Linked DNA regions of Homo sapiens: region 1 is linked to region 2. The links are contacts of gene promoters, found by promoter capture Hi-C in blood cells and fetal thymus (Javierre and others, 2016). All regions are on one chromosome and are shown on one strand. Each heading gives the region's core, a stretch centred on a gene start or on the middle of the fragment in contact. The rest is flanking DNA. Distances are from core to core; before and after follow the strand shown. Region 1 holds the start of LOC100506236 (a long non-coding RNA gene). Region 2 holds the start of EVX1 (even-skipped homeobox 1).

What was found. Contacts are between HindIII fragments. The CHiCAGO score rates a contact against its expected background, and 5 or more counts as called.
Region 1: a contact is called between a fragment that was not itself captured here and the fragment with the promoter of EVX1 in region 2, in 2 of 17 cell types (naive B cells and total B cells). The highest score is 13.2, in naive B cells.

Annotation. Positions count from the first base shown.
Region 1 is chr7:25,828,544-25,834,940 of GRCh38, forward strand. It overlaps LOC100506236 (a long non-coding RNA gene), which reads right to left and starts at 4,541. Exons shown (of 3, transcript XR_108752.5): 1 at 4,367-4,541; 2 at 3,223-3,406; 3 at 2,748-3,016. RefSeq lists an enhancer at 1,557-2,129. The HindIII fragment of the contact is 4,145 bases long and covers 684-4,828 here.
Region 2 is chr7:27,241,013-27,248,006 of GRCh38, forward strand. It overlaps EVX1 (even-skipped homeobox 1), which reads left to right and starts at 1,790. Exons shown (of 3, transcript NM_001989.5): 1 at 1,790-2,445; 2 at 4,036-4,292; 3 at 4,874-6,818. The coding sequence starts at 2,019. The coding sequence ends at 5,413. EVX1-AS (EVX1 antisense RNA) reads right to left here and starts at 6,217. Exons shown (of 4, transcript NR_120507.1): 1 at 5,949-6,217; 2 at 903-998; 3 at 537-629; 4 at 417-438. RefSeq lists enhancers at 1,408-2,285, 4,207-4,815, 4,816-5,425. The HindIII fragment of the contact is 5,233 bases long and covers 1,441-6,673 here.

The DNA of each region.
Region 1 (6,397 bases), core at 1,506-4,005, 1.4 Mb before region 2:
ATTCACAATAGCCAAGATTTGGAAGCAACCTAAGTGTCTGCCAACAGACGAATGAATAAAAAAACTGTGGTCCATATACACAATGGAGTACTATTCAGCCATGAAAATGAATAAGATCCTGTCACTTGTAACATGGTTGGAACTAGAGGGCATTATGTTAAGTGAAATAAGCCAGACACAGAAAGACAAACTTTGCATGTGTTCTCACTCATTTTGGGGGAGTTAAAACAATTGAACCCATCAAAATAGAGACTAGAATGATAGTTACCAGAGGCTGGGAAGGGTAGTGTGGGGAGATGGAAAATGGGGATGGTTATTGGGCACAAAAATATGGTTATATATAATGAATAAGATCTAATACTTGATAGCATAACAGAGCGACTACAGTCAGCAATATTTGCTGTACATTTTAGAATAACTAAGGGAGCACAACTGGAATGTTCATAACACATACAAATGATGGATTTTTCAGATGATGAATATCCCCATTTACCCTGATGTGATTAAACATTTTATACCTGTAGCAAAATATGTCATGTACCCCATAAATGTATACACCTATTATATACCCATAAAAATTAAAAATTAAAATTTTTCATAAAGAAAAAACTAAAATAAAAACAAAATAGAACATAAAATATCAGATTGTATTGCACAGAATAAAGATAAGTATCATCTCCCAAAGCTTTCCTTTCCTGTTGGTGTGTGTCTAGTGTGTCACAACGTGCTAATTCAAAGACACGTGACTTGTGTTTTATGAAGAGTCTCAAGCAAGCAACATACTTTCTTCATCTGTCTGATCAGTCTTGGTGACTCTTGCACAACCCTAGACAGTTCAAGGTTTGTCAATTTACTCATCAATGTCCAGAGTCAAAGCTATCATCCAATTTTCCTTGTACTGCCTCCAGAATTATCACACTTTGTGTCTGGATCGGTGACACAGTAGTCCAGGCTCTGCCACCAGTCTCAATGACAGAAATGTTTTAATCTCTCAAACTATCATTCTGCCAAGTCTTTTTCTAGCATGCTGGGGCATCTACCCTCCTCCACACCAAGTTCATGCTAACTGCTTGCATGGGGTTCCCCGCCAGACAGCTGAGAGAACTCGACTCTCAAAACTGAGTTGCTCCTAGGAAATCCCTTATTTCTCTATTTAAACTTTCATTGATTGATTTCACAAATATCTTCTGCCTACTACATGGCACATGCTCTAGGCAGACAATGGTCAGCAAGACAAGAGTGGCCATTGCCCTGCAAAGTCCCCTGCCTTGTCAGATGTCAGAGTCCAGCTGTCACAAGACAGGTACAGTCTCAAGTTCTCTTTAGGACTGACAAGCATTTGCTGCATGACCTTTGGCAAAATATTCCATCCTGTCACTCAGAGGTTTGATTGCTCAGAAGTTGTGTTTTCTGGCCTACTGAGAATCACAGGATCTTAGACCTGGCAAGGCCCTTAAAGAGCAGATTCTCTATTTACTGATGAGGAAACTGAGCCCCAAGAGGTGTTATCCTTTGCCCACGGGGACACATGACCCACTAGGAACATGTGTGCCAGCACCCCCAGCCCACCCCAGGACTGCCCCCCCATAGTGAAGCTGAATATGATCAGTTCCTTATGAAGAATTGAGAGACCTTCAAAAGGAAGTACCCTACATCCTGAACTTTTCAGAGAGATGGGTGGTGCAAAATGTTCAAGTGACAACACACGTGGAAAAAAAAAAAAAAAACCAAAGGCATATTTGGATCTTGCAGAAGGGTTTTCAGCAATACAAAGGCACAAGAATGAGAACAGCAGGAGTCCCACTTACCAGGAGCATTCCCTTAAAGCCTCATGTGTGCCTCCTAATAAATCTGCTTTTTCCTTTTTGAAGTTTAAGCGCTCCCTTATTGAGCAGTCTCCTGGTAGCCAGGAGTCCCCTAGGAAACAATTGTCTTGCTTCCAGTGCTGGGGCACTCAGACTCTTGGTTTGGTTTGGTTGGTTGGTTGATGGGTGATTTTTCCCTCCCTCTATCTTCTTAAAACTCCAGCCAGCATATAGGGGTTTTTCGTTTAGCTTCCTCAGATCCCCAGCCATTTCCCTAAAAGTCCATCCCATTAAACATGAAATCCACAGAACACACACCAAGCTACTTTTTCTCTCCCCTAATAAATCAGGTAAATTACCTCTTTTGTTTTTAAGACCATTTCAAGTTCGCCTTTAACATTTTTAGTTAAGGCATTATTTATGTTGTGATTTAATCGAGATTTAATCCACTTCTCAGCACACCATCGTATCGCAATATCCCTGAATTTTTTGCCCATATTATTAAACTTGAGGAGCACGGTAATGTTTTCCTCAGGCATGACACTGATCATTTCCAGATTGTGCATGTCTCTCTGGCTTTTTAACACACCTGAGTTTCTAAGGCCCACTAAAATAAATAACGGTTTGGTCTGCAAAGAACTGGGGCTGCATTAATAAATGCAGAGAGATCTATGTTTATCTCCACTTTCTGAAAACATAAGCGTCTTCTACAAATATGAGTATACACAGCAGAAATCATGTGAATCTCTTGGTAAATGTTTGCCTTCACATCCTGGGGTATGCTGCACACCAGATGGTTTGATCAAAACAAAATCATACACACACACACACACACGCGCACACACACACACACACACACACATGTTTGAGCACCATGCCTCCTCATTTTTGTGACTTTTTTTCTCCTTTCATGCATGAGAAAGAATGTAGAAATACTTAGAATAATGACCAGTATGTTCTGTGTTTACTGCTGCTTTCCCTCACTAGAGATTAACTCATAAAATTTTACTCCAAATTAAACAAACTGAGGCTCTCCTTGCAGCCAGTCAAACTGCCACTTATACCAAAGGAAATCTTAACTTCCATCTCTGAGAGTTTGAACGGCCACCCCTGCGGAAAGATAACAGGGTCTCTCTTTTCCTCTCTGTGTTCTGCGAGTCCTTGGAGGTGCCAAAATACTTGTCTGGACTCTGGCCCCCAGGGCACTTCATCTGCAATTAGAATGGAAACTGTATTTTAGAACATTAACATCTCTCCTGCTGTTTTTTTTTAATGATCTGATTGCTCCAATTATAGTTATTTAGAGAAATCGGACAGTCAAGGATTTTACCAGTAGGTAGGCAAGAAAGCACCTTTGACTGTGGCAGAGGACTTGCAAAGACAATTGTGTCTAGGAAAGACTTAGGAACTGTCTCACCATCCTGTCTTCTCAGCTGAAATTTCTCTGGGGATGATTAGATGTTGTCTTTGAAAAATCCAAATGGGAGAATGTGTATAAAACTACCCCGTTCTGTGCCTTGAGCACAGTAAGTTTTCAATGGACGTTAATTCCGTTGGAATCCCAGGCTTGAGACTGCAATCCAACGATGCATGTAAAAGACCTTGAGAAAGAAAACAAAAAGGCTCAAGGTCATGACCTCACCAGTCTTTTTGTCTTCCTCTCTATATTGCTCGTGTTTCACAGCCTTCAGCCCCAGTAAACAACATTTTTACCTGGAAGGAGCTTAGAGAGGACTTTAATTTTAGAGGGGCATTTACAAAGATCCTCTGATGCAAGCTCCCTGCTTCCTACTGCTAAAAGTCTGCTTCTTTTCAACAGTGCCCGCCTGGAGCCATGGTTGTGTTTTTGTGTGGTCTCATTCCTGTTTTATGGATTGTTCATGTACCCTGGAATCCCTGGGATACTTCAATTACAAAAATTACCATGTGCTGGGTTCCTTTCGGGTTGACAAGACTGCTTTCCTCTCTCTCTAAGCCGGGTTGTGTTTGTTTACATAGGAAATGTACTCTTTCTTAACATTCACTGTTTCAACATCCACTTAGATAGCTTCATTAAAAAATGGGTTAAAAAATAAAGAAGGGTGGCAAGAAAAGGAAAAAAAATACATCTTTCTATTTCAACCAAAAATTTGGTTCAGAACAAACTTGGAAAATCAGAGGATGTTTTTCTTTTCATCGCTGAAACAATGCTCTGCTTGTTCTCCCCGGGCAATGAGAACTACCCGGGCTTGGATCAGTGGGTCACATTGTGCAAAGTGTTTTTCCTGTTTAAACTATGTGCTTTCTTAAATGTTATCTTTTTGGAAGAAAATTAGATAACCTTATGTCCCCAGACTATATCGTATTTGTTTGAATAGGAAATGCTAATATTTTTCTACATGTTTCGTATCGGTGTCAGTGGAAACTCAGTTTGGTGGTTAAGACAGGCCCCTCTAAGCTCTGGGAATCACATTGGCTATCTTCCAGAAGCCAAGAGGTTCACGGTGATTTTGAATAATCATCTCCATAGCTATGTGAAGTATCTATATTACTTAGCCAGAAGAAAACAAAATTATATTTACCTTTTCTGTATTTAATTAATTTATCTTTAAATATGTCATTTGATGAGATTTTCCTTCTTAATTTCTCTTCTCTTTACCTCCACCTCCTGTGTTACTTCTGCTTTCTACTCAGTCCTACCAATCAACTCCCCAAACTTCCTGCAACCTCTACTTAAAGATCATGCTTAATTAGTCATTATACCCAAGGATCTCTGCCCCATCCATCTGTTTCTGCATTCCCATTGGTCTAAGCCAATGCCTGTTACATCACAGCCCCACCCCTGCCCATGACTAGAGGCTCCCCCTTCCCACATGTCCCCAGTTGTGTTCAGGCCCCTTTATCTGACATTCTTGGAAGCAGAAATAGCAGCAGAAACACATTTCTGAAACAACAGACTCCCCACGCGAACAAGGTCTCTACTAAGACACATCAACCAAGTCCTCTGAAAGCAGCACTGCCCTATCTAAATTTTTTTAAAGTGAAGCTTGTCATTTGCACTTCAATCTCCATTTTTCAGTACCTTCTCTTCAAACACACGTGTTTACGTACTTAATACCATCTTGCTTCCCCATATGAAAATCTGCTCCCAGAAAATCTAGCGTCAGGCATGTATAACTTAATGCAAATTTAAGTTGGTGTGTTCCTTCTCCCAAGGGTACCTCAATTCTAAGCCCTGTATCTAACTAAAGAATGAAGATGTGTCCCCTCTTGATCATGTTTTAGCCGTCGGTGCTCAGATGGGAGAGATGGCACTTTCGACAATAAGACACACTCTTTCATGACTTTATTGTCACAAAAACATACCACGCAAGTGCTTTTCTGCTCCACTAGAACAAGAAAGGCCTCCTAAAAACCCTAAGTGTCTGTTTAAACTCAAAGCTTTAAACCTGAGACCCTTCCACCCTAAATGATAACACTGCTCTCCTGTTGCTCTATAATCAAACCAATAGCCTTAACTCTATATCTGGCAAATACAAGCAAGTAGCAATCATGCCCTCTGTTAAGTAAAGCACAAAAACAACAATGAGCAGAGGTGGGCTCATTGTAAGCCATGAACCTTAAGTCTCGGGGCCCTTCGCTTGCACAGGCCCCTTCCCAAACCCTAGGCAGGGGACCTAGCAATTTTGTATGCGTGATTTTACATTCTTTTTAAAGAAGGCCCCAAAATTGTATAAGCTTCAGGCCACATACAGCTTTTAGATCCACCCTGTTAGGGACTGAATTGTGTTCCCCAAAAATTCCTATGTTGAAGACTTAACTACCAATGTAACTGTATTTGGAAAAATAGGGCCTTCAAAGAGTTAACTGAAGTTAAATGAGGTCATAAGGGTGGAACCCTCATCCAATATGACTGTTATCCTTATAAAAAGAGGAAGAGACACTAGGGCTTCATGCACACAGAGAAAAGCCGCCATCTGCAAGCCGAGGAGTGAGGTCTCAGAAGAAATTAAACCTGTCTACACCTCAATCTCGGACTTCAAGCCTCCCGAACTAGCAGACAATCAATTTCTATTGTTTAAGCCACCCAGTCTGCAGAATTCTCTTATGGCAGAATCCACACCCCTAGAAATTAGATACCATTTTTTAACTTTTCACTATAAAATTTTCTTAATGTTAACATTCAGTTTAACACTGAAGTATAGTGAAATAGGTAATCAAACATACATTGCTGACAGGACATGATTCAACACAACTTTTTGGAAAGCAAATATTAAAAGACATAAAAATACTCGTTTTCATTACCCCAAGAATTCTTCTGGGACTCTATCCTGACCAAATAACTCAAAATATTTTAAAAACTATATACACAAAGAAGTACATTAAAGTATTATTTACAATACTTGCCCATAACTGGAAGCTCCCCCTTCCCATGAATTACAAGTTGTGTGGGCCTTGGGTTTGTGGAGGAATCTGCCAGGGACTTTTAAAGATTCCCAAATTTGACTGTACATCTATATATGAAATTGTGTTGGTTTATTTGCAAAAATGGTTCCAATAATTCTTTCCATTCCTGTCTGCATGCCCCTCTGCCCTGTGATATTTCTGCCCCA
Region 2 (6,994 bases), core at 540-3,039:
AAAGAGAAGTGGAAAGCCGGAGTGAAGAGGAAACTTTGTCTTTCTTTGGACCCCTTACTTCCTCTACCTTCCTTAACCCTATGGATAGGAAGATGGAGGAGAGAAGCAAAGAAGGAGAAGAATACAGAAAGAGAAAAAGGAGGAGAGAAAAGTAGGAGATAACAGATAAAAAGGTCACGGAAGAGGACTTACCTGTAAAAGCTGGGGCTTTGCTAGGGACACAGAAAGGAGGGAGGTGCTGGGCTGCCCTTTGCAGCTGGCTGCCTAGGGCTAGAAGCTCTTCGGGAGGAGGCGGAGAAAGGGGGGTTGAGCATAGAAGGTGCCCACCTCCTGCTCTCAGCAATGTGGGGATAGACTCAGCCCACCCACCTGGCCCCAGCACACTTGCTTGGAGCTCAAAAAGGGTCAGTTTGAAGGAGTTTTATACCAGCTTCTTCCCTGGGAGAGGAGCCAAGAGAGGCCTATGGCAGCTTCCAGATATTAAGTTCCACAACCCCTGCCCCCACCTCCAGCCCTTCATCAGAGTCCCTACTTACTTGCTGTTTTAGGGCATTTTCAGCGACTTCACTCTCTTCTACCTCAAACGCCATCCACTTTTGGAGACAGGTACCACTGCCCCTAGGCAGGGACTTGGGAGAGGACCTTATGAGTCAAACCTCTATGAACCCCAACCTTTTTGTACTCGGGGAGGCTGAACCCCTGCCCAAAATAGCGCGGTGAAAGCTACTGCCTTCTCCCAAGTAGGGGCCTCCAGTACTGCCACAGCAGGGGCCGCATTCCTGGCGCCTCTTCATTCGAAAAACCTCTTTCCAGGAGACTTCGCTGATTCTGAACGAATACTTTAAAATATGGGCAAGGGAAAAAAAAAGACAACTCTTAGAAACTCTCCCCACCCAACATACCTGGAGTGCAGGCGAGGTCCAGGCAAACGGGAAAGCGACTTCTTGTACGAATAGCCATCTCAAGATGAAGCCAGGCTGTGGAAAACTTAAGGCCATCTAGATGGGAAGGAGGTATTTAAAAGAAATCAGCACACACTCTTACAGAAGCCAAGGCGGGTCTTTAAATTAAAAAATAATAATAAGGTATTTATTTCTTGCCCCTTAGGGAAGAAAAATAGCAAAGTTTGGTTCGCAGGAGTAAGGAGACAGAGGTGGGTAGGGAGAGGGAGGAGAAAAGAGGAAAAGATGGCCCAGCCTCAAGCTCTCCAGTCAACTTGGGGCGGGGGAATACATTTTTCCGTAGCTTGTAAAAAGACTTTTCAGCCAGTTTGAGGTTAGCTGCCAGGGGCAGACAGTTGTAATAATGCCGACAGAATTGAGGCTTGTAAGCCGGGCTTCACACTTCTAAAATGCAGTTATGGATTCTTTCATCGGTGTTAGATCAAGGCACCAAGTTAAGAAAACAAAAGTCAAAACAACAATAAAAGAAAAAATCAAAAGCTTATTTAATTACCGAGTCCCGCTGCCCCTGCGGAACTCGCCGCGCGCGTTAAGCTCTCTTTTCTTTCTGCGGAATTCCATTTGCATCCCCTCTGCCTGGGTGTCTCCCTCTCTCAGTGTGTGTGTCTCTCTGTCTGTTTTCACACTCTCCTCCCCAATCGAGCGAGGCCCACACCTGGCGCATCACTGCCGAGCCATTAGCTGCGGGTTTCCTTTCATCTTCGCTGTGGCAGACGTTTCTATTTATCCACTTGCGCTCGCCGAGTGGCGTCACCAGCGGTACTGTAATGACGATTGCAGCAGGAGGATGACAGCTTAGAAAGAAGAGGGCAATGGGGCTTCCTCCCAGAGGCGGTGCGGCACAGAGGAGCGCTCGCTTCACAAGGTGACCCTAGCTCCCACCGCCACCGCCGCGGTCGCGGTCCAGACCGCGCTCCAGCAGCTCCGCGCCCTCCCAGGCACCCGGCCTTTCTTTCTCCCTCTTGCAACCAAGATCCGTCCGGCCGCTGGAGACCCAGGGAGCCGGGGTTAGGAACTCACTTGGGGCTTTCCCCTCCCCCACCGGAGAGCCCCGGGATGGAGAGCCGAAAGGACATGGTTGTGTTTCTGGATGGGGGTCAGCTTGGCACTCTGGTTGGCAAGAGAGTCTCAAATTTGTCCGAAGCCGTGGGCAGCCCGCTGCCGGAGCCGCCCGAGAAAATGGTGCCCCGTGGTTGCCTGAGCCCTCGGGCCGTCCCTCCGGCCACCCGGGAGCGCGGCGGGGGAGGCCCGGAGGAGGAGCCGGTAGATGGACTCGCAGGCAGCGCGGCGGGGCCGGGCGCCGAGCCCCAGGTAGCTGGGGCGGCCATGCTCGGCCCAGGACCCCCGGCCCCCTCAGTCGACAGCCTCTCCGGACAGGGGCAACCCAGTAGCTCGGACACCGAGTCGGATTTCTATGAAGAAATCGAGGTGAGCTGCACCCCGGACTGCGCCACCGGGAACGCCGAGTACCAGCACAGCAAAGGTAGCCACCGTGCCCCTCCGCTCCCCGGGCCTCCCACTGCGCCCACCCTTCACTTCGGCGCAGGCCAGGAGGAAGACACTCCCTTCCCCTAGGGCAGGATGGCTGGGGGGACCCACCTGAGCAACTCTCTCTGCTATCTGCGTTCTGGCGGGGGTCTCCTACTGTGTTCTGGCATTGGCGGGACTGAGGGTGACAGCAGTGCCTTGAGTGCGGGGTGCTGAGGGGGCGGATGCAAGTCCTGGACTTGGGGGATTCGAAGCTCACCCCAAGCACCCAGTGTTTCAACTGCTCGGGGAATGCTTCAATTGCTCGGGGAAGACACTTTCCCCAGGCGAGGGCAAGATCAAACGCCGATCCGGGCAGTTTGTGGCTGGCAGGGTGTAAGAGGCATGGAGGCGCGGAAGCCAGGAGTCCATAAAGGACCGTAAAATTGCGGCCCACTTGGGCAGCCCGGGTGCTGCAGCCCTCCGACCAGTTTGCACGTCGGTCAGAGGTCCAAATTACCTTGTCACTTCCCGGGCTTCGCGGCGCCAGGTCGGAAATGGTCCCAATGGTCTAATTGCCTTTGGTCTCCGGTTGCATTTGAAAAGGCAGAGATCGGGTCCTCCCCCCTTCCCCTTTCCTTCCTAGTCCCACTTCTCCACCCAAAGGAAAAGGAGCTGCAGGGGGCTGGAGCCCCACCCTTCTCAGAGGTAGGCCCAAAGGGGGGCTGGTTTAACTGGAGAACCCCTCCCCACCAAAGGCTAATGGGAAAGGGGTGGATAGCCCGGAAGGGAGTTTCCCTCTGTGCCAACAATCACCTCCCCAGAAGGGGGTAGAAAACTGGGCGCGGGTTGGTGGGGGGGAGGAGAGGGGAGCCCACCAGCAGACACTCCTCCACAGAACTGTAGGAGTGGGTGGAAAGAGCCTGGGGGCGGGGGGGAGAAAGACCACCCCCTGGTCTTGGCAGCCAACGCCTTGTTGAATACCTGCACCTACCCCTTACTATCTTATCACCGATTTCACCCAGCCTCCTTCCCATAACCCTCAGAACAACCTGGACTCCACTCACATATACTAAGGTAATAAATAAGATACTCAACATGCATTCTCACTCCAGCCCTGCAATACACGGAACCTAGTACACATTCCCACACCTGTTCTGGCAGCCCGTCACACATAAGAGCAAGGAAACTCTCTGAATGCCCAGCATACTACAATGCACTTGACCCAGAGTTTACAACCCTCTAGCACAAAGGTGCATCTCAACTCATGTGCCTGTCAGAAGTGCACGCCCTGCCAACGGGAGGCAGAAATCTCACCTATGCTCCAGGGCAGGTGGGAAGGGCGGCTGGGAACCCCTGTACCCAGGATGCCTTAGAGGAAGGGAAGGCCTCCCCAAAGACCTCTACCTACCCAATCAAGGGCAGGCCCTTATTTTCCCTTCTTGGGTTCCCCAGAGGCCGCAGTACCCTAGCAGAAACAGTTACTGAGGTGGCTGACAGGGTGTCCCTTCCCAAATCACCCTCCCACCTTAGGCCTACAGCCCCACTTCAATGGCGTTTGTGTGTCTGTGTCTGTACACGCCTGTGCTCTGGACTCGCTGTGCAGGGTCCGGCTCCGAGGCGCTGGTCGGCAGTCCGAACGGAGGGAGCGAGACCCCCAAGAGCAACGGCGGCAGTGGTGGGGGCGGCTCGCAAGGCACCCTGGCGTGCAGCGCCAGTGACCAGATGCGTCGTTACCGCACCGCCTTCACCCGAGAGCAGATTGCGCGGCTGGAGAAGGAATTCTACCGGGAGAACTACGTATCCAGGCCGCGGAGATGTGAGCTGGCGGCCGCCCTAAACCTGCCGGAAACCACCATCAAGGTATGCGGGGTCCAGGCTGGGGAGGCGGGTGTGCACCTATTTAGCGGGAAGTAAATGCCAACTGCCAACTCCCTGAAACGCAGGCCAGGAATCTGGGCCTGGGGTCTCCCTGCCCGGCGCGTGCAGATTGACCCTCGTGACAGCTCCTAGGCAGGCATTGCTGCCATGTGGCTGACTCTGTCCCTTTCCTGGTTAAATAGACAAGGGGTGGGCGTGGGGGAAGGGGATAGAGTGCCTGTGCGGGTGACAAGGAAGTTTCTGGGGACACGCTCTCTGCGGCCGCAGACCAATTGAGTCCATGTCCTTTCACTGCTCCTCCCATACACACACTGGCCTCTGGCACCCCGGGGGCCTGGCCACCTGGGCAGAAGGAAGGAGGGAGCGGGCTGGAGTCACTCCCCAAACCTCTCTCGGAGGGATTCCAGCTCCAGGTGGTGGTGGTGGGGTCGGTCTCTACCCGGCTGGTGTCTGCTTTGGCTGTTCCTGCCCTGCGAACACTGTCCCCGGAGCGGGACCAGACTACTGGCCTCTGAGCATCGGGCCAAGTCCAGCTACTGAACCTGCTCCGCTCCTCTCCCCAGGTGTGGTTCCAGAACCGGCGCATGAAGGACAAGCGGCAGCGCCTGGCCATGACGTGGCCGCACCCGGCGGACCCCGCCTTCTACACTTACATGATGAGCCATGCGGCGGCCGCGGGCGGCCTGCCCTACCCCTTCCCATCGCACCTGCCCCTGCCCTACTACTCGCCGGTGGGCCTGGGCGCCGCATCCGCCGCCTCCGCCGCCGCCTCGCCCTTCAGCGGCTCGCTGCGCCCGCTCGACACGTTCCGCGTGCTGTCGCAGCCCTACCCGCGGCCCGAACTGCTGTGCGCCTTCCGCCACCCGCCGCTCTACCCCGGGCCCGCGCACGGACTGGGCGCCTCTGCCGGCGGCCCCTGCTCCTGCCTCGCCTGTCACAGCGGCCCGGCCAACGGGCTGGCGCCCCGGGCTGCCGCCGCCTCGGACTTCACCTGTGCCTCCACCTCCCGCTCGGACTCCTTCCTCACCTTCGCGCCCTCGGTGCTCAGCAAGGCCTCCTCCGTCGCGCTGGACCAGAGGGAGGAGGTGCCCCTCACTAGATAAGGGGCCGCCGGCTGGCTGCCGGCTCCATGACGCCCGTGGGGTCACCCCCCGGCCCCGGGACTCAGCCAGCCTCGCTCCTCGCTCCTCGCTCCTCGCCCCTAGGACGCCAAGGGGGAAAGGAGAGGGCGGAAAAGGACCAGCGGGATCCGGCCGCAAGAATTGGAAAGCCTAGGAAGTGGCGGTGGCTGGCGCGTTTGGGGAGCAGGAGTGGGGATAGGGAAGCAGAGCTTGAGAGACCTTCCTCCGGGGCAGCCTCCGGACCCACCGCCCCCCACCAGGGTCGAGGCTGTAGCTCCAAAGCTAAACAAAACTTAGCAGCAACAGCAACCAATATCCAGTCCCTCGGCCCCTCGGCCCCTCACCCTCCACCTCACACTCCCTTCTCACCGGGCCCCCTCTCCCCAGCCAAGGCCCAAGCACTGGAAAGGGAAATTGCTGTCTCTCTGAACAAAATGCTGTGTATGCAGAGCAGGTAGAGATTAATCTTTGCCAGCTTTTCCAAGGCATGACAAGGGGCTGGTGGATGGCAACATACCAGTCATTTGGAGGAGAGAGTGAGAGATGATTTACTACCAGGGAGAATCCAGCCCCTTGGCATGGGACCTGGAGCCTCGACTACACAGCATCTTCTGGGTCTGGCGTCTGCCAGCACCTGATCTCTTTCCTCATTCCCAGCTTTGTGACACTTCTCAACTTGCGGCTCCATCTCTCCCTGCCCCCACTTTTTTGTTGGCCAGGGAGGCTGCAGATGCCCCAGGAGCCCTTTGCCGCTTCTATGAGGCCAAGCCTTTTTTCCCTGGGCCCAGCACACACCCTGATTAGCAAGTGATGTGTGCGAGGAGGGTTTGTGAATGTTGAATGTGTAATAATGATCACCATGGAGCTGGCCACTGACCCCAGAGCTGAGCTGTTAACAAGGCGCCCAGGGAAGAGCTTAGGGAGTGGGAACTTCACCTCCCTCTCTCGGTATCTGGCGGTAAATTAGAGGCAATTTTCATCCTTTGCTTGTTCACCTTCACTTCACCAGGAACTTTCTGGCCCTACCCTTTGCATTGGGTATTTTACAACTTTCTCTCATTTTCTTCCCAAGCTACCACTGGAGCTTGACTTTCAGATACCAGTGGGAGCCTTCTGTCCCTTTTGGGGACCCTGTCTGTGGCCTCCACCAGGGTTTGTTTAGAGCCACTCCCAAATCCTCACTCCCACACTCATCCTTGCAGCCAGTTTTTGAGGAAGAGGAGAACGTGTAACCCCAATGCAAGCTTCACCCTGACTGAGAGGGAGTGGTTCTTCCTGTAGGGAATGAATTTGGTTTGATTTGGGGTTTTCCTTTGAAGCCCAAAGAACTTGCTGTTATGATTCGTTAACCATATTGCAATAAAAGCTGGACATAATTCTCACTTTACATTTTAGTTTTTGTGGCAGCAGGCAGCTCTTAACTGAATTTTAAAGTTGCTATTTCAGCCACCATGGGTTCGAATAGGGAAGGAACCAAAAGATGGACCCACAGAGTCTTCCAAGCCACTGTTTGTCACTGGTAGGCTCCAAGCAGCCATTGCATGGAGGTGGAGAAGACAGGCT